Regions from separate parts of the Homo sapiens genome. Here region 2 is linked to region 1. The links are contacts of gene promoters, found by promoter capture Hi-C in blood cells and fetal thymus (Javierre and others, 2016). All regions are on one chromosome and are shown on one strand. Each heading gives the region's core, a stretch centred on a gene start or on the middle of the fragment in contact. The rest is flanking DNA. Distances are from core to core; before and after follow the strand shown. Region 1 holds the start of SPRR1A (small proline rich protein 1A). Region 2 has its middle 16 kb from the start of LCE3A.

The links. Contacts are between HindIII fragments. The CHiCAGO score rates a contact against its expected background, and 5 or more counts as called.
Region 2: a contact is called between a fragment that was not itself captured here and the fragment with the promoter of SPRR1A in region 1, in 1 of 17 cell types (naive CD8 T cells). The highest score is 5.6, in naive CD8 T cells.

Annotation. Positions count from the first base shown.
Region 1 is chr1:152,979,419-152,985,330 of GRCh38, forward strand. It overlaps SPRR1A (small proline rich protein 1A), which reads left to right and starts at 4,663. Exons shown (of 2, transcript NM_005987.4): 1 at 4,663-4,707; 2 at 5,794-5,912. The coding sequence starts at 5,813. The HindIII fragment of the contact is 3,855 bases long and covers 1,792-5,646 here.
Region 2 is chr1:152,635,643-152,641,959 of GRCh38, forward strand. No RefSeq gene overlaps it. Among named protein-coding and RNA genes, the nearest start is that of LCE3A, 16 kb to the left of the region's middle. The HindIII fragment of the contact is 725 bases long and covers 4,119-4,843 here.

The sequences.
Region 1 (5,912 bases), core at 3,413-5,912:
TCAGTGTCTCTTCTAAGAGTCACCCTCTGATTTATAGAGTGTTCCACTAGTCTTGAGAAGCAATACAACAAAGTTCTCAAGGGACTGTACCCTGGCACATCAGACCTTCATGACATGTTGGGAGAGTCACTCAAAGTTTTTCTGCCTCAATTTCCTTATCTAAGGTGTGTCCAGGTTTTTGTATAATCACCAATAATTTTAGCCTCCTCCCATGCCCCAACTCCTATAAAACATGAACTGTGCAGTCATTGTCACTGTTCAATAGCTCAAGATATAATTTGGTAAATATGTAAACCTGAAATCGAGTGTAAAAAAATGAGGGGAGATAAAGCAATCACAAAGGCCAAGAATGTTGCTCCATTGAAGAAGTATGCCCTGTCCTTGGGCGCTCTCTCCCTGTTCTCTCTCTCTTTCTCTCTCTCTCTCTCTCTCTCTCTCTCACACACACACACACACACACACACACACACACAGAGTGAGAAGGAAAAAAGGAAACTCACAGTCAAAAGGAAAAAGTTTCAACTGATTTCAAGTGGAAGGAGAGGAAAGAATGAGACAAGCTAGCAAGAATTATTACGCTAGACGTATTTAGCTCATTCATCTTAAAGTGTTAGAAGCATCATTGCGTTTAATCTTTATAGCAACTTTGTGAAGTAGAATTTAAAGTTCTCCTTTTAAAGATAAGGACAGTAGCATGCAGAAAGGTTAGGCAACTTGCTCAAGGTCATCCAACTAATAAGGGCATAGCAAGGCTTTGAAACAACTGGGCAAGACATTAAGCCTGGGTGCTTTTATTTCTATATACCTCAAGCAAGAGAAGCCAGGTTTAATTTTTTATCCATCCCTTCAAGGACCAGAAATAAAAAGAGTGAGGGTGAGGGGCATGCTCTGTTCTTAAAGAGATGGTAGAAAGGAAAGGGAATTGAGCATCCCAGGTTTGGGTCTGATTCTGTCACTAAAGAGGCTGTGAAGCCTGGAGCGAGTTCCTTCCCCCACCACAGCAGTTCATTCCCTCTCTATTGGATGAGGGGCTGAGTAGAGTTTCTCTGGTGCTATGATTTCATGTCCTCCCTCCACCTCTGCACCCACATTTGCAAACTTAACTTTTCCTCCCTGCTGGGCCAAAGTGTTCAGGAGGCTCCTAACACCTGGGATCTGGTGTTTCTCCTTTTCCTGCCCTTTCTCAGATGAAGAGCTTGTGTGTTATAGAGACTTTTTAAAAATTATCATGGCCTGAATTGAGCAGCTGACACTCTGGGGGTCTCCCTAGCTTCTCAAGGTGATCAGAGAAAGGGAGGGGGTAAACCTGTTAATACTGCATGTTTCTAAATGTTACCATGCTTTAAATATGCAATCCCCACAGGAAAAGGCCTGGAGTTCAAATTCTGCATGACCTTCTTTGCAGGGTCTGGGCTTTAGGGAAGTGTGGGGGAGAGAGTAATCTATGCTGGGAAAAGCCTGATCACTGATTAGACTTAGGGCCATCAATCTTCCTTGCTCTGGAAATGACTGATGAACCTGAGGCACTGCTCAGAGTCAATGGAAGTTCCAGGGACAAATGAGAGCCAGTTTTCGATGTCAGAAGAGCAGCAGCTCCTGTGTCCTAGGTGGGGCTTTTCTGCAAGGCTGAGAAATCTGGGGTGCTGTTCTTACTGTCGGAAGCCACCCAGTTTCCCCTTGTCTTTATGTGGGAGTTTGTGGGGCCTGATTCAATAGCTAACCCAACCCCAGTGGCAGAGAAACAAAGTTTCTTCTGAGGGAAGATTAACGATTAACACAAGTCACTGTGGAAGCTTCAAATACACAGAGAGAAGAATGTCAGAGACCAAGAGAAAGTTCCAGAGTCTGGAGCCCAAGCAGGCTTGGGTGGGGTGAAGGAAGCACATGTTGAGGCACGCAGGACTGTCCAGTAAGGAGCTGATAACCAGGGAGAAGGAAATTCCTTTGCATCCAGGGCTAAGGTCCAGGGAGGGCATGAGAACACACCAGCTTCAGAGGTGGCTTCAGATCATCCAGGGCCTGAGACAAGCTGGGTGACACCAGAGGACAGACAACTAGGCAGCAGGTTCCTGCAGGGCTGAGAATCCTACCAGACATAGCAACAGGTTCCAGCAGCCCCTGCTGTCAGGGCTCCTGGGTGGGGACTTGGTGAAGAAGGGGACCTGGGCACAAACCTAGAGGAGAGCTAAGTGAGGCAAGAGTCTTGGAGCTCAGGTGTCCTGGTGGGGCTGGCACCAGCCCGGAGCAAGGTGGGGCATTAAACTGTTTGACAGTGAGGCAGGTGGGTGGGGAGGGCAGCAGGTACACTGTGTACCGGAGCTTCTAGGCAGGTTTCAAAGTAGACTCTCAGCCTGTCTTTACAAATAACGCCATTCAGTCATTCATTCATTCAGTCAGCCAGCCAGCCAGCCAGCCAGGCAGTCGGTCTATAAATGCCAGTCACCAAGCAGCTTCTGCACGCCAGGCACTGTGTGAGGATGGAGATGGATAGGGACCAATGGCTGCATGGACACAGTGGGAGGCTGACCTTGGCCTCAGGTTCACTGGCTGTGGAGCCAGCAGGTGCTCCACAAACATTTAGGTGTGTGTTTGGGTAAAGGAGGGGTTAGATGAGGAGGAGGAACCATCTGAACACCTGAGTTTTAAGGATGATTTGGATTTTCCAAAGGCCACACCTAGTAACAGTTTGTGTTTTGAGTGCAGCTCTGAATCAGAGACCTCAGTTTTATGGCAATTGCCTATGGAAAGATTGAGGGAACCCCTGTTCTTGTGTCCCCAGGAAAGAGAAGTTCCTTGGCAGGGCAGAATCTGACCATCGTGGAGTGAAGGCAAGCATGTGCAGGTGCTCAGGGGCTTATCACCTACTGCCTCCCCCAGTGCCTTCACCTCAGCTGTGTCACGATGTCACTCTGAGAGCTCCCCTAGAGCGAAAGCAACTCAGGATAGAAGCAGACATTTTAGTTTTGGCTTTTCCCTTCCTTTCTCCGACCCTGGTGCCCTGAGTAATGATAAACTGAACCTTATTTCCACCTATTCTAATTCATGCCCTTCTTACTTTAGCAGAGCTAGAAACACCCACTGTTTAGAGCCACTCAAATATTAAGCATCTTTATTTCTACTTAAAGGGATTTATCTTAGCACCGATTAAGGCTTACCCACAAGGCAAGGCTCTTTCTGTGTCCTCACGCTGTCACTCCTAAAACTTTCCAGAACTACAAGTGACCCAGCTCTCAGTCAGGAAGGGCTCCCCTTTCCACCTCTAATCAATTTTCTGCCTGGGCTTAATTTCCTCCATAGACATTAGGGAGTCACAAGGAATTAAAACAAAGGAGAACACAGGATTTCTGTGTAAAATTCTTTTCTTCCTAGGGTTTGTTTTTTTGACCTTGGTGAGTTATTTCACCTCTGGTGGCCTCAGATTCCCCAATCATCCCTTGAGGAGTGTGAACTAAAGGCTCTCTGAGATCCATAATCTCAGTGGCTCTCAACTGTGCTCTGTCTCTTACCCTGGGGAGTTCATGATCTGTAGAGGAAAAGTGGGCTTCCTCATCAGAGAGCTCCTAGAATGACAGGCATGATGGGCATATGTTAGGCTCCCCACTGAGATTTGTTGAATAAATGAGGAAATAAACACTGTGGTGGGGACACCGTTGCTTTAAGCAGGAACAGCTCTGACCCTCGGAAAGCCCCCAGGAGATACAGACCCAGAAGGAGGAGGAAAACCTTGCAGCCAGCAGGATCTCTAGGTATTGGGGCTGGAGCTGGCAGTGGGCAAAAGTGGAGAAGGATTCAGCATTGAGGACCCCATGGATGGGCTGCAGGGAGGCAGGTAGAAAAGGCTTTTGGGTTTTCAGGTGGGGGGCAGTCTAGCCTGATCAGAAAGGAGGAAAAGGCCAGGGCCAGATGTCTGGGTGGAGTGAAGGGAAAAAGTGATCCCAGAAGAAGGATTAGCCCCTGAAAGTCCCTGAAGTAGGAGAAGGGTAAAGGTGTGGTTGGTGAAGGAAAGCAGGTTTTCCCAGATTAGCAACCAGTCAGGGGGAGGAAGGTGAGAGTGGGAGAGTCATAAGTAAATTATTCTGAATGTGTGTAGTTTAATGGAATTGGGAAAAAGATGGGGGAAATGGATGGAAGGGTCTTGGACTCTGAGACAAGGGGTCTATAATCAGTCCATTTCATTATTTCTAGCTTCCACCTTCACCAAGGCAGACAAGGAGGGCCCACCTCAGCTCCTCTGCTCCCCCTCCCTTTCCCACCTATTCATGTGTGCAAGAGTGCCCTGTCCCACAGAACACGGGGAACAACCATCTCAATGACAAGGACAGCAGGTGGCAAGGCCTCAACAGGACTCAGATGTCCCCCCAGGGTTAACTCATGAAACCCTCCATGAAGCCTGCTGCTCACCCCTCCCTCAAGGCAAGCCCTGCACCTGGGTCTGAGGATGAGGGTGGCAGTGAAAATTAGGCCAGTGACATCATTTTCAGCCAGCCAGTGCCAAAAAATATCAGGTGGTGTTCATCAAAAAAGCTGAGCCAACCGGTGATGAGGATGGTAGTGTGAGTCATGTGTGACAGGTGAGGAATGAAAACAGAGTGCCCGAGAGCTTCTATTTCCTTGAGGCAGGGCTCATTCATCTTATAAAAGCCAGCTGGCCATTGCCTTCACACCAAACCCAAGGGACCACACAGCCCATTCTGCTCCGTATACCAGGTAAGTCTCTGATTGCAACAAACTGGCAATTCTAGTGTACTTTTTCATTATTAGAAATTAGCTAAAGGCAAATATGTGTAAGCAGGTTAATCCAGGGTTTCAATGGGAGATAGAGAATAGTGGAATATCTTTATTTTAAGTTAAATTACAGTCTGGATTTGAAAGGACCTTAGAGATGGTTAGGGCTCCCACCTCAGTAGATAGTCATTGAACTGGGAGTCCTGGAGAAGATTGTTCAAATGCCCATGGGAAGTTCATAGCAGAACTAGAACTCAGGCCCAGAGCACTCTCAGTAACACTGCAATTTCCCCCTGACAAGATATTTATAGAAATTTTAATTTATTAGATGGATCTCTACTGAGCATTTATTCCATTTAAGGCAGTATGCTAGGCACTTTGGACAAATCAATGCCTAACGTACTTACTTAACAAACATAAAACCTAGCAGGAAGGTAATACATATATATAAATAAATGAAATGCAAAGTAGATAGTAATTGGCATGACGGAGATGGGCAGAGAAGGGCTGTGCACTTTTGGGAGACCTTGCTCAAGGAGACCCTCCTAGGGGTGTCAAGTGATGTGAGCTATGATGGAGGGGTATTTGGACAAGCAGAGATGGGAAGAAAAGCATTTGGAAGGGACTGTGTAAGCACAGACCAGAAGCAAAACCATAGAGGCTTAGATGAATATAAAGCCATCCTATAAGTCACAGGCTTTCTACATGGTACTAGGAGAGGAAAGTGGTCTGATGCCATTTTCCAAAAGACCTAATATGCGGACCTCATGTCCCTCAGAAGCCAGCTTTAGTAGGGCATTTTTCCAGAACAGATATAAGTTGCCTTGGGTAGGAAGGGAGCCAAGAAGAGAACTCCAATAAAATGGAGCAGAAGAAATTGCCTTTTAGCTCCTCCTCTTCAAAGGGCCTGAAAATTATCCAAGCTTATTTCATTTTTAAATGTAATGGGGGAGTTAAGGGAGATGAAAGGCTTTCTCTTCTAAAGGGTCCTGAAATAAAATCTGTTTGGCATTGAATTTGTATCCATCTTTCTTTAATTGAATCACTGTGTCAGCTTTCTGTCTCTAGAAAAAAACACATTTGAAGCATGAATTCTCAGCAGCAGAAGCAGCCTTGCACCCCACCCCCTCAGCCTCAGCAGCAGCAGGTGAAACAACCTTGCCAGCCTCCACCCCAGGAACCATGCA
Region 2 (6,317 bases), core at 3,231-5,730, 340 kb before region 1:
TGAGATCCTGTCATTTGCAACAACATGGATGGAACTGGAAGACATTATGTTAAGTGAAATAAGCCAGGCACAGAAAGACAAGCTTCTCATGTTTTCACTCATTTGTGGAATGTAAACATTCAAGCAATTGAAATCATGGACATTTTATATACCGTTAGATGTAAAAGAAGAGAAGACCTGCTTTTGGAAATGGAAAAGTAGGTTACTTTATACAAAATTTCCACAGAGAATAACTGTAAAAGCTAGAAAAGACAAAATAAAATATCTGTCTAAATATGTCATCAACCTATCAATTCAGTGAAGATTTTTGGGACCAAATTCTAAAAAGCAGAGAAGCCAAGAGACAGCCTAGAATGTAACACAACTTTTCTCTTGATACATTTGCCAATTCTGAAAAGCTGTAGCTGGAAGTTGAGAATATGAGTATATCTGTCAGAAAATTCATAGGGGTCAGGGAGGAGGGAGGACGAAAATTAGATTTAGGGCTGTCAAGAAGGAGGGGTTCTGGTAAACACTCCAGGATTTGGTTGGAGCCAGAAGGGCTATAAACTATGAATGAGGAGAATCAGAAATAGAACATCCTGGCAGGGCACAGTAGCTTATGCCTGTAATCCCAGCACTTTGGGAGGAGGAGGTGAGGGGGTCACTTGAGCGCAGGAGTTGGAGTCTAGCCTTGGCAACATGGTGAAACTCCGTTTCTACTAAAAACACAAGAATTAGCCACAAAAATTAGCTGGGTGTGGTGGTGTGTGCCTGTAGTCCCAGCTACTTGGGAGGCTGAGGCAGGAGAATCGTTTGAGCCTGGGAAGCAGAGGTTGCAGTGAGCCAAGATCGCACCGCTACACTCCAGCTTGGGAGACAGAGCAAGACTCTGTCCCAAAAATAAAAGCAGCCTGCAATTCTGCAAAGAGACTGAAGCCAGGCTTTGAATGATCTTAGCCCCTGATCAGATTGGTATTACCTGGGAGTGTTAGTGCTCCCAGCCTAGATGCTTGCTAGAAAGAAAATAAAATCGACATTTAGAGACTAAATGACTTCTATAAATTTTTCATATAGAGCTCTACAATTAATGAAAAAAAACCAAATATATTTTTAAAAATTTGACTAGAAAAAGTAAGAGAAAACAAGCAATGCAAACAGACCAGAGGATATCTAGCTAGTATAGTTATGAGATACATATTTGAAAATATCTATGATTAGTATGCTGAATAAATTAAAAGGCAAGGTGGAAAACTTGCACAGGGATCTACAAATTCCAAAAGGTAACAACATGGAAGTCTAGACCTGAAAAATTAATAACCAAAATTAAGAACTCAGTAGAGAGGTTAAATAACAGACAGCACAACAGAAGAGATAATTAGCAACTGTTAGATTGGACAGAAGAAAATATTGAAGCAAGGGAAGACAAACAACCAGAAAATAAAAAAAAAATACAAAATATATATGGACTATAGTGAAAAGTTCTAATATCTAGATAATAATACTTGGAATCCCAGAAGAAGAGAGAGAACAGAAATAAGCAGTACATGAAGAAATAATCACTCTGAATTTTGACATACTGACAAAAGATATCAAACCACAGTTCCAAGAATGATTAGGCATCCCATGCACAAACTTCTTCTACTATTAGTGCTTGGGGATCCACCTGAGGCCTGGTGTTTCTTGCACTCCTTCTTGTCAAGCTCTGAACTCCTTCCTGGTGAGATGCTAAAATCTTGATTTGGCCTCTCAGCTTCTTAGCCACCACTTTCACTTTCAGCATTCACAAATGGCTGCAGGGAATACATGTCCCAAATATCTGACCCACCCTGCTTGAAGACCCTCTGTTTCCACGTCTTGACATCATCTGTTTTCACTGCCTTGGAATAGGCTTGCAAGATAAAATATAAGATGGCCAGTTAAATTTAAACAATGGATAACCAGCGAATACATTTTTAGTGTAAGTATATACTATGTAGTATTGGAGATTTATACTAAAAAGTTATTGTTTATCTGAAATTTACATTTAATTGGGTGTCTTGTATTTTTATTTGCTAAATCCAGAAATCTACCTTAGTCCCTCTTCTCGGTCTTCAAAGGAGTTTAGAAACATATTGTCCACATATTTTAGCTGTTCTTATTGGGAAGCTAAAACAACATAGTTGGCTATTGCTGGGAGAGAAATTCCTGAGTTTTAAAAGATAACTTAATTGAAGTATTACATGCATAAAGCAAAGCACACAATCATTGTATACAGCCTGATGCTTTTTCAAAAAGGTAACACACTTACATAACAACACCCAGATCAACAGAGAAATGATTACCAGCATCTTAGAAGCTCTCCTTACTCCCCTTTCGAGTTACCGTTATTCCCATCCACACCAAAGGTAACTGTTATCCTGATTTTTAACAGTATGGATTAATTTTGCTTGTTTTCAAACTTTATAGAAATGAAACCATATGCTAAGTGCTCTTTTGCATCTGGTTTCTTTGCTCAGCATTATGTTTATGAGACTCATCCATAGTATTGTGTGAAGTTATAGTTTGTCAATTTTCATAGTGATATAGTATTTAATTGGGTAAGCATTCCACACTTAATTCTCTGATTAAAGGACATTTGGTTAGGTTTCAGTTTTTTGTTTGTTACAAGTAGTTCTGCCATGACCATTCTTATATATGCCTTCGGTACATATACGTGTGGATTTTGGAGGATTATATTTGGGGAATAGGTCACAAGTTGTGCATATGCTCAGTTTTACTAGATACTACCAAGTAATTTTTTAAAAAGTCTGTATGAGAGTTATTGCTCTGTATTCTTGGAAGTCCTTGGCATCATTTGTGTCATCATGTTACCCATTCTTAGTGTTTGTCTCAATGGCAGTGAAAGTCTGCCTCGTGTCTGTGATGGGTCTTGGGCAGCAGAGAGGTGGTGTAGGCTGTTATCATTGAGAAGGTACTCTTATTAACCAGCTCCCTTCAGTCCTACATAGACTATCTTGGGTTATCTTACTATATACTCCCACAGTCCACATTTTGTAGTAATTTCTTGCATAATTGGCTGCTTTAGCCATGAGTTTATTACCTCCATGAGGATAGAGACTAAAATTGTTTTGTTTTTCTGCTATAGTTTAAATGTCCCCTCCAACACTCATGTTGCAATTTGGTTGCCATTGTAACAGTGTTGAAAATTTGGGCCTTTCAGAGGTGATTGGGCCATGAGGGCTCCACCATCATGAGTGGATTAGTGCTGTTGTCATGGGAGTGGGCTAGTTGTTGCAGGAGTGGGTTCCTGATAAAGGAATAAATTCAGTCCCCATTTTCTCTCTGTCTCATATATTCACTTGGCCTTCTGCCTTCTGCCTTCTGCCACAGAATAACCCTTACCAGATACTAGCACCATGCTCTTGGACTTCCCAGCCTCCAGAACTGTAAGCCAAATAAACTATTGTGTTTAAATTATCCAGTCTTTTTTTTCCTAACTTTTATTTTAGGTTTAGGAGTACATGTGCAGGATTGTTATATAGCCAAATTGCATGTTGTGGGGGTTTGGTGTACAGATTATTTAGTCACCCAGGTGATAAGTATAGTAGCTGAGAGGTACTTTTTTTGATTCTCTCTCTTCTCCCAGTCTCCATCCTCAAGTAGGCTCTGGTGTCTGTTGTTGCCCTCTTTGCATCCGTGTGTTCTCATTGTTTAGCTCCCACTTACAAGTGAGACATAAAAAAAATTAACTAGTGTTTGGTACTCTGTCATGGCAGCAGAAAATAGACTAAGAAATCACTTAATAGTTTCTGGCATAAATTTGGCACTCAATAAATAACTGGTCAATGAATAAATGGATGAGCTTTTGTTGTGCCTCCCCCCCAAAAAAATTTTAGAAATATATTTACTATTTAAAGAGCTTCCCCCTTACGTTGATGATATTTAACATGACAAAGGTGATGATACTGACAAAAACCCCATGTCTAGGTGACATCTTATGATGTGGTTGTGGGGTTAGAGTGTTTAATTGGCATTCTTAACCATAGAAATGTCCACATTCCTTTATATCTTTCTATTTTTTTTGCCCCAACAGCAAAACACTAACAATTAGTATGAGCGTCTTCCATATATGGGTCCACTGTATGTTACTGGAGAGAAGCTTTTGAAGGGATTCATGGCAACCAGTTGACCAATCAGCATATCTTCTCCTTGGCTCTGTACTCAGGTCTGTGCTAGAGCTGGGTGACAGAGACAGTTTAATAGGTCTTGATTTCTGCCCTCAATGAGCTTTGACTAATTGGAGGCAGTAAATTTTTATTTAATTAAAATTAAAAGGGAGGAAGGTTTTCAAGGCCCAAAGATAGCATGAGTTTGTGCCTGAAGGCAGTAGGATGAAAGGTGTGCTCTGGTACCAATAAGCAGGGGTGTCAATAGTACTATCTGGGTGGCAGGATATGTGGGGATGATTATTAATCTATTCTTTCTATATCCCCATAGTTTCCAAACTATTTTTACAATTTTAAAGTTGATTGAAAAAGAATCCTAAATGGTTACTGTTGCAGTATGGAAGGTTTTTTTTTTTTCTTTTTGGTTGGGGTAAGCTATAGGCAGAATGGCCACCCAACCAGTTATTTTTCTAGTACAGGAGATAGGCAAAGGCCAGTCTGTGGCATGTGCAGTGGCATAGGGAGGAGCAGATAGCTGTATAACATGCAGAGCCACTCTGTTATCGAATCTCAGCCCAATCTGGGTCTGGAATTTTCTCTACATAGACTCTTCTCAGTTTGACACTAGGGAAAGTTGTCTTTATTTCCCTGTTGGTACTTGAGCTATTTCCCCAACATTTTCCTGAGTCATAGGCCCTATCATGGCCAGAGGATTAAGCTTGGAAAGAAAACAGATATTCTGGTTAGATCTTGAGGGCTGTGGGTGTTCTAAAAATGTATTCTCAGCTCTCACCTGTTCTTGGCCCCTGGCAAGCAAGAAAAGCAACAAGGGTGATGGCCTTCAGCTGTGGCCTCCTGTGGTGGGTATGATTGTTGAGTAAGTCCAAATGGAAATGAGACATTGGTTCAGCTTCCTAGTCTAGACTTTCTGGCAACCCAGACTCACTTTTCACAGCAAAACACCAGCAGCAACAACGACAAATACAGGCTTCATTTTAGGACAGTCTCTGCTGTTAGCATGTTACATATATTAACCTGTTTAACTCACAACAGCTCTTCAAGGAAGACATTATTATTATCATTTTAGTAATCTCAGGCTCAGAGAGGTTCACACAGCTACTAAGTGGCAGGACTGGAATTCAAACCCCAGAAGTTTGGTTCAGAGTCTATGCTCTTAACCACCAGGTAATCGGCCAGACTAGACAGAGACACATAGGCATCTGGACAAACTCATTTTACGGGTAATTTCAATCTGGTATTGTGCAAATATATATTCAACACAGATTGAGAAGAGAGATTGAGCTCTGTAATAGGAGAAGGTTTAAACAAAAGGATGTTTCACCAGCTTGCAAAATAAAATTCTACAGTTAACTGGATTTACTCTACAGGCATATTTCGAAGATACTGTGAGTTCAGTTCCAGACCACTGCAATAAAGCAAATATTGCAATAAACCAAGTCAAACGAATTTTTTGTCTTCTCGGTGCATGTGAAAGTTATGTTCACACTATACTACAGTCTATTAAGTGTGCAATAGCATTAAATTTAAGAAATAATGAGGATATCTTAATTAAAAATACACCATAATGTGAGCCTTCATTGAGTTATAATATTTTTGCGGATGCAGGGTCTTGTCTTGATGGTCACTGATTGATCAGGGTGGTGGCTGCCGAAGGTGGGGTAGTTGTGACAATTTTCTGAAATAAGACAACAATGACATTTGCTGCATTGATTGACACTTCCTTTCACAAAAGATTTCTCTGTAGCATGTGATGCTGTTTGATAACATTTTACTTACAGTGGAACTGCTTTCAAAATTTGAGTCAATCCTCTCAAACCTTGCCGCTGCTTTATCACAAAGTTCATGTAATATTTTAAATCCTTTGTTGTCATTCAATAATGATCACAGTATCTTCACAGGAGTAGATTCCATGTCAAGAAACCACTTTCTTTGTTCATCCATAAGAAGCAGCTCCACATCCATTCAAATTTTGTCATAAGATTGCAGCAATTCAGTCCCATCTTCTGACTCCACTTGTATTTCTCTTCCTATGTCCATCACATATACAGTTACTTTCTCCGCTGAAGTCTTGAATCCCTCAAAGTCATCCATGAGGGTTGGAATCAACTTCTTCCAAACTCTTGTTTATGTTGATATTTTGACATTGTCCTATGAATCATGAATTTTCTT